Linked DNA regions of Homo sapiens: region 2 is linked to region 1. The links are contacts of gene promoters, found by promoter capture Hi-C in blood cells and fetal thymus (Javierre and others, 2016). All regions are on one chromosome and are shown on one strand. Each heading gives the region's core, a stretch centred on a gene start or on the middle of the fragment in contact. The rest is flanking DNA. Distances are from core to core; before and after follow the strand shown. Region 1 holds the start of ZNF229 (zinc finger protein 229). Region 2 has its middle 15 kb from the start of ZNF235.

What was found. Contacts are between HindIII fragments. The CHiCAGO score rates a contact against its expected background, and 5 or more counts as called.
Region 2: a fragment that was not itself captured here is called in contact with the fragment with the promoter of ZNF229 in region 1 in 2 of 17 cell types (erythroblasts and megakaryocytes); the score reaches 5.3 in erythroblasts.

What each region holds. Positions count from the first base shown.
Region 1 is chr19:44,446,419-44,453,806 of GRCh38, forward strand. ZNF229 (zinc finger protein 229) reads right to left here and starts at 2,054. Exons shown (of 6, transcript NM_014518.4): 1 at 1,891-2,054; 2 at 1,095-1,182. The HindIII fragment of the contact is 11,359 bases long and covers 1-7,388 here.
Region 2 is chr19:44,315,945-44,323,328 of GRCh38, forward strand. No RefSeq gene overlaps it. Among named protein-coding and RNA genes, the nearest start is that of ZNF235, 15 kb to the left of the region's middle. The HindIII fragment of the contact is 929 bases long and covers 4,403-5,331 here.

The DNA.
Region 1 (7,388 bases), core at 804-3,303:
ACCACAGGAGAGACTTAACCTTTTGAATGAGTCTGTACTTCTGTCAAATAAAGATAATCCTTACTTGCAAAACTAAAATAATTTAAGTTTTTCTCTCTTTCACACACACATGCCTATGTGAATAAACTTCAAAGCCCAGTACGTGGTACACAGAAAATCATCAATATACTATTACCATTGACCCAACCCAGCATTAACCTAGGAATACAGGAACTCATGCATTTAGTAAATGTACATTCAGTGTCTAACAACATCTTAGGAGAATAAACACTAGACATACAGCAGTAAATTAAGATGGAAAAGGTAATTGTTCTCATGGTGCTTACTTTCGGGTGGGTTAATCTCTCTACAAATTAGGTGACCTTTGGTTGCAAAAAGGGCTATGAAGAAAATAAAGCAAACATGATAGATTCCTGTTTTCCAACAAGAATGTAGGTGCTATCAGGTGAACATATGTGGCAGCTGTGGAAAGAGCAACATTAAATCAGGTGGTCAGGGACAGTCTCTAAGAGCTGCCTGACAAATAAATCAGCTGTGAAAAAAGCTGGGATGAGACAAGTCCAGAAGGAAGCATAAGCGCAAAGACCTGGTTTCTGTTTAGAAGGTCTCCTGGCCAGGTCTTACCTGTTAAGTTTTTTTAACTTTTTAAACCTTAGCAACTCATCTGTGACATGGGGATAATAGCTAACATACAAACTTGCTCAGAAAATTCAATAGAAATACATTCATTTATTCAAATATTTATTGGCAAGCCTGGCACTGTCCTAGACACCATGGATAAATAATACCTGGCATATAGTAAGCACTCAGTTAATATACACCATCACAGTTACTCTAATTATTTCTACCCTGCGTTTCTTCAGCATGGCGCTGAAACAGTGTAAGCCTTTACTGACCCAGTGACACACTACTAGGAGCCAAGAAGAGAATACACTAAATAAAGACACTGGGAAATTCCTCAAACCTCCCCCATTTCTAGGGGAAGGCAGGTGTGGCTAAGGGGTCTGAATGAACATTTGTGATATCAATGGGATGAAGAATGAGGTCACCAAGAGACCTGGCATTGCCACAAAAGAGAACCAAAGTTCACTCACCTGGAGCTCTAGTGTCAAGAGATGTGGGGTTATTTCTCCTTCTTTTATACAATTATCTCCGAGAAACGAACAATTCCAAGAAGGAAGCCTGTGAAAGAAAAATGAACAGCAGGATAACATGATTTAATCCCAATTCCCACCACGCCACAGGGGGAAATCTCTCAGTGCCAGCTGGATGTAATCTACCCCTTCCTGTAATCTACCCTCGCTACTTGCTTCAGGAGCCGAGGAAAAGAACCTCTCTTCCTACAGGACTCAGAGTACAAGGGACACGCCATTCCTGATGCCCAAAGAAACCGTCTACAAGCCTACTTTCACTGCCCCTTTCAGGAGACAAGGAGAATCAAGACAAAATCTCAAGATTTTAATCCAGAGCTGACTGTCACATGCTGTGGGACACTTACAAGTGAAATTCTGCCTGTGTGTGCTTAGGCGGCTACAAAAAGCAGAGCCAGCAACGATACAGCAAACCAACTCCTAGGACTTGCACAGCGCTTAATACATTTCAAAGGATAAAATTAGAACACAGGGAATCAACTTCCTGTTTACAGAAATGACTTCGCAGAAAACTCTGAAATTACTCCACAAGTGGGTGGGCGGCTACCCTGAGAAAATTCATGTCATCGATCCGCAACTGACACAGTGGAGTCTCCCGCACTGCAGATCTCATCTCAAAGCCAGAGCTGGCCTCAAACTGCTTTTCCAAGCCTGGACTGCGAGGGCTGCCGACCCGGGCCCACCCCGCACAGGCGCTCAGAATGTTCGATACGTGCGCCTCCTTACACCCCTGCCTCACCAGGCCGAGCTCATGGAAATCCGTGGGCTTCGACCCTCCGCCGCACGTTGTCCCTTCACACTGGTCCTATAGAGCCGATCCTAATTCCCATGGCCTGACAGTACAACCGCATGGAGATGCACGTCTCTAAGACGCCTCACCACTGCCTAAGAAGCAATCAAGGTGACGCGCCCACCGGAAACGGAAGTAGTCGACTCGAGGTGTGGGACTACCTTTCCCAGAACCCTCCGCAGCGCAGTCCGATCCTAGGGGCGATGGTGTCGTAAATGCGCGTCCACCTCGAGTCACGCCCACTGCGAGGCGGCGGGAGGCGGCATGCAAGGTGTTTCTGAGTTGAAAAGAATGTCTTTACTCAGTACTAACATATTCGCGTTGTAGCAAACCTGACTATATTCTCAAACAAGCCCATCATCCCATCACCAGGGATATAAAGCATTATTGATTTTCTGGTGTAAAAGCCAACTAAATATTTATTTCAAAAGTAGTTCATATTACATGTAAAGAATGGTTTAAAAAAAATTCTTACTTAATCCCTGGTTTATGTGAGTAAATATGAATTCTTAAGAATCCCATTTCCCAAATGGCATCATAATATTTTGTAATCATTTCTTGCCACAGGTCATATATCGTGGATAGTTCTGTATGTCACAAAAGACGTAGAGATACATAGAGATAATAAAAAAACACAAATTATTTGCAATACTTGCCTAGCATTCTTTAGTTTTTAGGGAAGTTACCCCTTTGTCCTGCATTGAACTTACACTTCTAATTTTATGATATCAAAACTACACACAATCACTTTCTTTAATATTTTCCCAATTTGATGGACTAAATATCCTGTCTTATTTTCCCAATTTGACAGAGTAAATATGCTTATTACCGATTGCATTTCATTGTCATCTTTTATTGTCATACACTCTCTGTGTATGAATGATATCGCTTCTAAGTGATGAATTGCTCCCCCAGTTTCAACATTTATAAAGTAGTTTAGAAAAAAAAAAAAACAAAAAACTTCATCTGACAAGGTATATCAGTCTTTTCATTTGTGGCTTCTTTTTTTTCTCCAGTATGACCAAAAAGACATTCCTTAGCCTGATTCCCAATAAGTGCATATCTATATTCATTTCAGGCTCTTTCATTTTTCTTTTGAATCACCGCGTGATTCATTTAAGTGTATGATATGAAAGGAAGATGGAGTTTCCTGTTTCACCAAAGGATTGTCTACTTTTCTTAACAAAATTTACATAAATATTAATTCTTTCCTTTCTGATTTAAACGGCATCCTAATCACTTACTACATTACTATATATATAATGAAATATTTTCTGGGATACAAGTGTGTTCTGAAGATAGAGATTGCTTTTTCTGTGCCATGATGAAAGGTTTCAGTTACAGTGATAACTCATTTCCTTATCTCTCCCTCCTTGTTGTGTTTCAAAAATTTCATCCTAGAAGTTCTAGAACTCTCTCTTATAAACAGATTATCGAATTGTTTTGATAAATTCTAAAAAATTGCCAATTGACTCCAAAGCATCCAAGCCCTTCAGATATTTGGTTCCAAACCCACCCCTCTTTGCTTGGGTAGACACAGTCCTACTTCCCATCCTGTGTCCTCCAGTTTTACAAATGTCTGAATTTGCTGCTATTGTTCTTCCCTCTGTAAGTCCATCCTTTCCTGTACTATTAAAATCTTACTCCATATTTAAGACACAACTTGAATATAATTTCCTCTATCGAGTGTTTTTGAACTCTATATCATAATTCAATGAACAGATCAGTCTGTGATTGGGAGAATTTCATGCGAGTGTAGTGGATGTTAAATACCACTCTCAGAACATTCTCATTTCCCCGAGAAATCAATAAATTATATTACTCTGGGATCCAGCAACACATGGTTTAAATTGCTGGTTACCACCTTTCACATGGCCTCCATGGTCAGATCTCTAAGTCATCAAAATAATTGACTCTTCTTTTTCTTTATTTTCTTTATTTACCTTTCATGGCTCTGGCACATGGGAAGCACTTAAGCAATTCAATCAAGTGTCTTGGCCGGGCACGGTGGCTCATGCCTGTAATCAGAGCACTTTGGGAGGCCGAGGCAGGCAGATCACGAGGTCAGGAGATCGAGACCATCCTGGCTAACACGGTGAAACCCCATCTCTACTAAAAATACAAAAAAGAAAACAAAAAAAATTAGCCGGGCATGGTGGGGGGTGCCTGTAGTCACAGCTAGTCAGGAGGCTGAGGCAGGAGAATAGTATGAACCCGGGAGAAGGAGCTTGCAGTGAGCCGAGATCAAACCACTGCACTCTAGCCTGGGCGACAGCGCAAGACTCCATCTCAAAAAATAATAATAATAAAATAAACATAAAAATAATTATTTTAAAAAGGTGTCTTGACCTGGAAGCTAAGAGCCAACCTGCACAAAGTGTGGGTAGATGAATCCATTCCAAGGCCCAAGGTAAATATTCAGCCTTCATCCTACCTCATACAAACTGCAAAACACTGTAGAAACCGTGTGTCAACTGAATTTGAAACTGCTGTAATTTCCGACTCCCTAACAGTTTTGTTATTGTTAAGAAAAAATAACCCAATTTTAAGTAGGCAAGGTATTTCCGTAGACATATCTTAAACGAAAATAAACAAATAGGCAAGAGACACATGAAATGACTCTCCACATCCTCAGTCATTAGGGAAATGGAAGTCAAAACAATGGTGCTACTTCACACTCACTAGAATGGTCAGGATTGAAAAGCAGAAAATAGGCTGGGCACAGTGGCTCACGCCTGCATCCCAGAACTTTGGGAGGCTGAGGTGGGCGGATCACCTGAGGTCTGGAGTTCGAGACCAGTCTAGCTAACATGGTAAAGCCCCTTTTCTACTAAAAATACAAAAAATTAGCTGGGTGTGGTAGCATGCATCCGTAATCCCAGCTATTCGGGAGGCAGAGGTTGCAGTGAGCCGAGATCGCACCACCGCACTCCAGCTTGGGCAACAAGAGTGAAACTAAATCACACACACACACAAAAAAAAAACAGAAAATAAAAAATGCTGACGATCATGTAAAGAAGCTGTAACATTCCGGCACTGCTGGTAGGAATTTCAAAATCTACAGCCATATTGGAAAATAATCTGGAAGATCCTCAACATGTTAAACATCATAGAAGTCTCCAAATGATGCAGCAATTCCACACCTAGGTATGAACCAAGAGAAAACATTTGTCCAAACTAAATATTGTACAGGAGTGTTCATAGCAGCATTATTCAAAGAAGTAGAAATCCATCACCTTAAACGGGTGAATCTTATCCAGGGCATCCACGTGGAGACAGGGGCAGACACAGGGAAAGAGAATGAGGAAATGTCTGAAATGGAGGCCGAAAGAGAGACAATGAGAAGGCCTGTGAATGGAAGAAACCGAGCGCAGGGAAAACAGTCATACGTATACATCAGAGATCTGAGAACGCGGGATCATACCGACAGTGTCACTGCCAGGAAAGGGGGTCAAGCTAGGGATGTCCCCGGTGGCGTCGCCCGCAGAAACACGGACAGGTTTGGGGTTCACGCTGGCACGGGCGCCAGCAGCCACGTCAGCAGGCAGGAGGGTCCCACTGCACAGCTGAGGGGTGATGATAGCCCAGGTGGTGATGTCGGCCATCAGAGGGGCCTCTCCTGCCAGCAAATGTGTGACAGTAGCAAGTAAAAGGACAGGTCTTTGTGTGAGGCCGGAATGCGGGAAGGGCTCTTCTGTGGCTGAGTGTGGAGTCCTCAGCAGGAATGTGGATAAATGGCCAGGTAACTGCATCACGTTGGCTAGGAGGATGGCAAGGACTTCGAGCTGAATGATGATAACGGGGAGTGACTGTGAGACCCTGCGAGGCTCTGAGTGTAAAAGAAGATGGGTGCGGGGCCCCAGGGGAGTATGTGGGAGCCACTGCTGTGTAGATGGAGGTCGTTGGGGAAGAATCTGGTGAGCTCTGTGAATTTCCAGGGGTCTCCTGTGTGCTGGGGGCTGACTCTTGCAGAAAACTGGGGATGGTTGGAGAGTAGCTGGGAGACAGGAAAGAGACCCTAAGGAATGGCGGTACAAAGGTCAGAGAGGAGCAGGAGGAGCACGGTGAGGTCTGTGAGTTTCCAGGTGAGTCCTGTGTGTTAGGGGCTGGCCCCAGGAGAAATCTGGGGATTGTTGGAGAGGAGCAGGGGGATGCTGGAGAGTCTCTGAGGGATGGGGATGCAGAGATGGGAGACAGAGGTGAGGAGCACAGGGAGGTCTGTGGGTTGCTAGGTGATGCCCTGAGCATGAGAGGCTGACTCCAAGAGAAATCTGCAGATGGCTGGAGGGGAGCTGGGAGACACAGGAGAGCATCTGAGGGCTGCAGATGAGCAAATGGGAGACATGATTAAGGAGGGCACCGACATTTGTGAGATTCTCGGTGACCCCCAGGTGTGGGGGGCTGTGTGTTGCAGAAACCTTGGGATAATGGGAGAGTAGCTGGGACACACACACAAGTAGCCAAGGGCCTGGAGTACAGAGTTGGGAGACATGGGGATGGAGCCCCGTGAGGACGCTGAGTTTCCAGGTGTTTCTTTGGTATGGGAGGCTAACTAGCTGAGAAAGGTGGGGAGGTCTGAAGAGTAACTGGGAAACGTGGGACTGTCCCTAGGGGGTGGGGGTGAAGACATGGGACACATAGGGGAGGAGTGCAGTAGGAACTGTGAATTTCTGAGTGTTGCCTCGGTGTGTCGGTTTGACTGTTGTAGAAACCTGGGGCTGGTTGGAGTGGAGCTGGGGGAAACCAGAGAGTCTCTGGGGGATGAGTATGAAGAGATGGAACACATTGGGGAGGAGCACAGGGAGGTCACTGAGTTTCTAAGTGATTGCTGCGGGAGAGAGGCAGACCCCGATAGATATCTGGCAATGCTGGGAGAGTAGCTGGGACAGACAGGAGAGACGCTGAGGGCTGGTGAGGACATGAGACAGACTGGGGAGTAACTCAGTGAAAGTGGTGAGTTTGGTGCAGATTTATGGGTGCCTGGAACTGATTCCCGCGGAAATCTGGGCATGGTTGAAGAGTAGCTGTCACAGACAGAAGAGTCCCTGAGGGTTTAAGAATTACCCGTGTAAGTGAAAAGACTTTTAAGAAAGAGTGGAGATATGCGTTGCATAAATATTCTTTTGCTCTAGAACCACGTAGAGACATGGGAGCCAGTTGGGTGGAGCATTCATTGGATGTGCTTGGCTTAGGAATATCAAGGAATATCAAGGTGTGGCTCCAGATAATTCAATCATCTAATTAAGTTTTCAGTTATGCTAATCTGTTTTAAAATTCTGTTTGTGTAAATTCTTTTACTCAGACTGAGAATGGCAATGCCTCAACTCCAATTTCCAGGGAGGGTTGAAAGCCTCAGGTTGAGCTGATCACCAATCGCCTATGGTTTCACCCATCATGCCTATAGAATGAGGTCTCCATAAAAACCCAAAAGGACTGGGTTTAGAGAG
Region 2 (7,384 bases), core at 3,617-6,116, 130 kb before region 1:
TATCTGGATCATCTGGAAGTCCGTTTCAACTATTAGAATATCATGCTTATGTACAGTTTCTTTTGCCTGCAGTCTTAAGGAATCTACTCATTCCCCAAGTTTGAATGTTTATATTGTCTTTTGTTTTTGTTTTGGCATTTGGCCAATTTTCTGGCAAGCCCCATTAATTTTTGTTGAATGCCAGGTATTTTGTATAAAAAATGGTGTTGACTCTAGATAATGTAATCTTCCTTCAGAGGATCTAAGTTTTCTTCTGGCAGACAGAGGACAGGCATATCACAAACTTTACTCACATGATGTTGTGATCCATTATTTTTGACTTGGAGAATATGAGGATTTTCATTTTCGGCAGGACAATGAGCCAATATAGATAAAATTTAAAACACGTCTATTCACTCAACAACCACACATTTAAATGTTCTATGGAGATGATGAATATAAAGAGATGAAACTTATTTTTCTCTGGTTTTTATTGCATTGTGGTTTAGAAGAGTGAAAAACAGTAAACAGGCCTTCAATAGTAAGAAATTGGTTAAGTAAAAATAACACATTAATACACAAGAATACCATGCAGGCATTAAAAATTAGGTTGTAGGTCATTTAAATTTTTTTCTCAGTTTATTGTTTTGTTTCTTATTTTTATGATAATTTAATACATTTATGTAATTTGTAAAAATCAAATCAGTGTACTTGGAATATCCATCACCTGAAATATGTGTCCTTTCTTTATGCTAGCACCATTCTAATGCTTCTCTTCTAGCCATTTTGAAATATACAATAGATTACTGTAAACTATAGTCACCCTACTAATCTACTGCTAGGTCTTATTTCTTCTATCAAACCATATTTTTGTACCCATTAATCAACTTCTCTTCATCCCTCCTCCCTACTACCCTTGCCAGCCTCTGGCAACCAGCAATCTACTCTCTATCTTCATGAGATCCACTTTTTTTAGCTTCCATATATAATTGAGAATATGTTATTTGTCCTTCTGTGTTTGGCCTATTTCATTTAATATAATTACTCCCGGTTCCATCCATGTTGCTGCGAAAGATGGTATTTCATTCTTTTTTATGGCTGAAGAATATTCCATTGTGCATATATACAATTCATCCATTAATGGGCAGTTAGGTTGATTTCATATTTTGCCTATTGTCCATAGTGCTGCAATAAACATGAGATTGCAGGTGTCTTTTTGATATATTTTCTTTCTTTGAATATATACCCAGTACTGGAATTGCTGGACTGTATGGTAGTTCTATTTTTAGTTTTTAAAGAAACCTCCATACTATTCTCCATAGTGATTGTACCAACTTACATCCCCACCAACAGTGTACAAGCATTCCCCTTTTGCCACACCCTCACCATCATCCATTATTGCCTGTATTTTTGATAAAAGTAATTTTAACTGGAGTGAGATGAGATCTCACTGTGGTTTTGATTTGGATTTCTCTGATATTGATCATTTTTTTCCTTATACCTGTTGGTCACTTGTATGTCTTCTTTTGAAAACATCTATTCAGATCTGTTGCCCATTAAAAATCTGATTATTTGGCTTTTTTGCTATTGAGTTGTTTGAGCTCCTTATATATTCTGGGTCTTAATCCCTGGTCAGATGGTCAGTTTGCAAATATTTTCTCCCATTCTGTGGGTTGTCTCTTCACTTTTTAAATTGTTTCCCTTGCTCTGCAGAAGATTCTTAGCTTGATGTAATCCAATTTGTTAATTTTCACTTTGGCTGCCTGTGCTTTTGAGGTGCTACTGAAATCTTTGCCCATATCAATGTTGTGAATCATTTCCCCAATGTTTTCTTCTATTAATAGTAGTTTTATAGTTTTAGGTCTTATATTTAAGTCTTTAATCAATTTTGATCTGATTTTTGTGAAGGTGAGATAAGGGTCTAGCTTCATTCTTTTGCATATATTCAGTTTTCCCTGCACTATTAATTGAAGAGACTGACCTTTCTTCCATTGTATGTTCTTGGTGCCTTTGTCAAAGATGAGTTAACTATAAATGCATGGATTTATACTTGAGCTCTCTATTCTTTTCCATTGGTCTATGTGTCTGTTTTTATGCCAGTACTATGCTGTTTCAGTTGCTGTTGTTTTGTAGTATATTTTGAAGTCAGATAGTGTGCTGCCTCCAGCTTTCTTACTTTTGCTCAGAGTTGCCTTTGGCTATATGGCATCTTCTGTGGTTCCATATAAATGTTAGAATTGTTTTTGTCTATTTCAGTGAAGAATGTCATTAGTATTTTCTTTTTTTAAATTAAATTAAATTAAATTAAATTAAATTTATCACTATTATTTTTCTTGAGAAGGAGTCTTGCTCTGTCGCCCAGGCTACAGTGCAGTGGCGCAATCTTGGCTCACTGCAAGCTCTGCCTCCCAGGTTCACGCTATTCTCCTGCCTCAGCCTCCCAAGTAGCTGGGACTACAGGTGCCCGCCACCATGCCCGGCTAATTTTTTGCATTTTTTAGTAGAGACAGGGTTTCACCATGTTAGCCAGGATGGTCTCAATCTCCTGACCTCGTGATTGGTCTGCCTTGGCCTCCCAAAGTGCTGGGATTACAGGCATGAGCCACTGTGCCTGGCCTGTCATTAGTATTTTCATAGGAATTTCATTGAATCTGTAAATTGCATTGAGTAATATTGTCATTTTGACAATATTAATTATTCCAATCCATGAGCATGGGCTATCTATTTTTTGTGTCCTTTTCAATTTCTTTCATCAGTGTTTTAGAGTTTTCCTTGGATAGTTCTTTCACTACTTTGGTTAAACTCACTCTTAGGTATTGTATATTCTTTGTAGCTATTGTAAATGGGATTGCTTTCTTGATTTCAGATTGTTCACTGTTGGCATATATAAATAATACTGATTTTTTATGTTTATTTTGTATCCTGCAACATTACTCAATTTTCTTATCAGTTCTAATGGTTTTTGATAGTCTTTAGTATTTTCCATTTTTAATAACATGTCATCTGTCAACAAGACTAATTTGACTTCTTCCTTTCCAATTTGGATGCCCTTTAATTTCTCTGGGAACTGGAGTGCTAAAGTTTTCTCAGTGTTCCTCCCACCTAATTGTTCTATGCAGGATTTCCAGTACTATCTATATTGAATAAAGGTGGTGAGATTAGGCATCCTTGTCTTTTTCAAGATCTTAGAGGAAAGGCCTTCAATTCTTCCCTGTCAGCACAATGTTAGCTGTGGGCTTGTCATATATAACTTTTATTATTCTGAGGTATGTTCCTTCTACACCCAGTTTGATGAGGATTTTTATCATAAAGGGATGTTAAATTATATTGAATGTTTATTTTTAGCATCTATCAAAATAATCAGATGGTTTTTCTTCTTGGTTCTGTTAGTGTGACGTATCACACTTATCAATTTGCATATACTGGATCATCCTTGCATCCTTGGGATGAATCCCATTTGATCATGGTGAATGATCTTTTTAATATGTTGGTGAATGATCTTTTTAATATGTTGCTGAATTCAGTTTGCTAGTATTTTGTTGAAAATTTTTGCATCTATGTTCACCAGTGATAATGTCCTGCAGTTTTTTTTTCCATTGTGTCCTTTTCTGGTTTTGGTATCAGGATACTGTTGGCCCCATAGAATAAATTTGGAATTATTCCCTTCTCTTCAATTTTTGTGAAGAGTTTGAGTAGAATTGGTATTAGTTCTCTAAATGTTTGGTAGAATTTAGCAGTGAAACCATTAGGTCATGAGTTTTTCCTTGATAGGCGACTTTTTATTATGGCTTCAATTTCATTATTTGTTACTGGTTTATCGAGGTTTTCTATTTCTTCATAGTTCAACTGTGGTCGATTGCATGTGTCCAGGAATTTATTCATTACTTCTAGGTTTTCCAAAGTGTATCATTGTTCATCACAGTCTCTAATGATTCTTATTTCTAATGATTCTTATTTTTGTGGTCTCAGTTGTTAAGTCTCCTTTTTCATTTCTGATGTTATTTACTTGGATCTTCTTTCTTTCTTGGTTAGTTTAGCCAAAGGTTTGATGATTTCTGTTTATCTTTTTAAAATCCCAACTTTTCTTTCATTTATCTTCTGTATTCTTCTTTCATTATCAATTTTATTTATTTCTGCTCTGATCTTTATTTATTTTCTTCTACTAATTTTGGATTTGGTTTGTTCTTACTTTTTTAGTTCCTTGAGGTGCATCATTAGGTTGTTATTTGAAATCTTTTTACCTTTTTGATATATGTTTGTTGCTATAAACCTCTAAGTTTTGCTTTGGCTGTATCCCATAGATTTTGCCATGTTGTATTTCTATTTTCTTTGTTTCAAAAAATGTTTAAATTTCCTTCTTAATTTCTTCATTGCCTCACTGGTCATTCAGGAGCATGCTGTTTAATTTCCATGTTGTTTGTGAAGCTTCCAATGTCCTTTTTGTTATTGATTTCTAGTTTAATTATACTGTGGTCAGAAAAGATACTGAATATAATCTCTCTTTTTTTTTTAATTTGTTGAGATTTGTTTTGTGGCCTAAGATATAGTCTATTCTGGACAATGTTCCATGTACTGATGAAAAGAACATCTATTCTGCAGCAATTGGGTGAAATGATCTGTAAATGTCAGTTATGTCTATTAGGTCTAGTGTGTGACCTAACTTCAATGTTTCTTTGTTGATTTTCTGTCTGGATGATCTGTCCATTGCTGAGAGTGGGATGTCAAAGTCTCCTACTATTATTATTTTGCCATATATCTCTTATTTTCGATCTATTAATGTTTGCTTTATAAACTTCGGAGTTCTGGTGTTGAATGCATAGATATTTATAATGGTTATATCATCTTGCTGAATTGACCCATTAATCATTTTATAGTGACCTTATTTGTCTTTTTTACAGTCTTTGATTTGTAGTCTATATTGTATCTTATACAAGTATAGCTACTCCTGCTCTTTTTTCGTTGCCTGTTGCAAGCTATGTCTTTTTCCACCCCTTCACTTTTAGACTATGTGTGTCTTTACAGGTGAAGTGGGTTTCTTGCAGGCAGCATATAGTTGGGTCTTGTTTCTCTATCCATTCAGCCACTTTATGTCTTTTAATCAGAGGATGAGTCAATTTACATTCAGTGTTATTATTGATTAGTAAGGACTTACTACTGCCATTTGTTGCTTGTTTTCTGGTTGTTTTGTAACTCCTCCCTTTCTTTCTTCCTTTCTTACTGTCTTCTTTTTTTGCTTAAATATTTAAGAGTCTTCATTTTTCTGTCTTCCTTTGTGGTTAACAGTATGTTTTAATTTGTTGCTTTTTACTTTTAGTGAATCTATTATAGGTTTTTGTATTGTGTTTACCATAAAGCTTACAAAATACATTTTATAGATATAACAGGTTATTTTAAAGAGATGACAACTTATCTTAGATTACAAGTAATAGAAACAAAGAAAAATGAAAAGAAGAAACACTTCTACACTTAACTCCCATCCGTCCCACCTTTTGATTTTTGGTTGTCTCAATGTACATATTTTTATATTACCTATTTCTTAACAAATTGCTCTTGCTATTATTCTTTTTGATAGATTTCTTTTGGGCTACATACTAGTTATGAGTGGATTGCACATCACAATTACAATACTATTCTTGGTTTGTCTGTGTACTTAACTTTACCACTGGGTTTTACAGTTTCAGAAGCTTTCATTTTGCACATTAGTAGCTTTTTCTTTCACATTGGAAACTCCCTTGAACCTTTCTTAGAAGTCTGTTGTGGTAAATTCTCTCATCTTTTGTTTATCTTGGAAAGACTTTATCTCTCCTTCATATTTGAAGGATAACTTTGCTAGATACAGTATTCTTGGATGATAGTTTTTTTTTTTTTTTAATTTCAGCACTTTGAAAATGTCTCTGCACTTCCTCCTGGCCTATATGGCTTCTGTTAAGAAGTCTTTTGCCAGATGAATTGGAGCTCCTTTATATGTCATTTGCTTGTTTTTTTTTTTTTTTTTTTTTTTTTTTGCTGCTTTTATAATTCTTTCTCCTTGACCTATGAGAGTTTATTATATGCTTTGGGGTAGTCTTAGTTGGGTCAAATCTGTTTGCTGTTCTATGATTTCCCTGTACCTGGATATTCATCTCTTTCTTAAATTTTGGAAAGTTTTCTGTTATTTTGTTGAATATACTTTCTACTCCTTGCTCTTGCTCAACTCCCTCCTGAACAGCAGTAATTCTTAGTTTTGGTCATTTGAGATATTTTCTATCTCTTTCAGTCAATATTTGCTCTTTTTCTTTCTCTGTTCTCTTCTGACTGTGTATTCACAAATAGCCTGTCTTGGAGCTCACTGATTCTTTCTTCTGCTTGATACATTCTGCTGTTGAGAGCCTCTAATGGATATTTCAGTGCAGCAAACATATTTCTCAGTTCCAAGATTTCTGTTTGATTTTAAAAAATTATTTTATTCTCTGTTCAGGTTCTCTGATACATTTCTGAATTGCTTTTCTGTGTTATCTTGGAGATCACTGAGTTTCCTTAAAACAGCTCTTATGAAGTCTTGGTCAGAGAGTTCACATATCGTCTTCCTGTTAGGATCAGTCACTGGTTCCTTGCTTTGTCCATTTGTGGGATGCCATGGCTCCCCGTTTGCTGTTGTTGCTTATGGATGTGTGTCTGTCTTTGCATCGAATGATTATACATTCCACTATTCTCTGTCTGGCTGGTTTTGTTTTTCATTGGATATGGCTCCCTAGAGATTCTTTATATTTTACCTGTTGATTTTCTTCTTTCCCGTTAGGTTACTGACTCCTTTTTGGTACTAGATAGCCTATTAACTCCAGGTTTGCCTCAGTTCTAGTAAATAATCATAGTGCCACCCATCCCAAAAGGGGTAGGTCCCATAGGGGATATCCTAGTTGTAAGAAAGCTGGCTAGTGGTTCATGATTGGGGACCTACAGTATAGTGATGCTGAACAGCCACTCTGATTGTTGTCTCCTTTGGCTGAGTTGCAGAGTAGAGTTTCCATGACGGGGACAGTATTCCCACCTCCCTCCTTTGTCTCTGGCTGTCCTCAGGGATATTTCTCTCTTCAGTTACTCCTGATGCTTTCTGTGGGTTGAGTCAGGGACAAGTCTCCTGCCAGGAAACCCAAGATGGGGAGGAGGCTGGTTGTCCACCTTGATTAACTTTTTCCAGTATAGAAACCGTGAGACGGGAAAATTTTCCACAGTCTTGGCACCAGGCAGATTAGGGGGAAGGGCACTGTGGATAGGAAAGTCCACTTCTCTTATCATCTGCTCAGTTTTTTCCACTTATTTGTGTCCTCAGGAACTGTCTCCTTCTATTTGAGTTCTGGGATATTGCTGGTGATAATCTTGGTGCTGTATATTTGTCTTTAGTTTTCTATTGAAAGGAGTGAAGCCA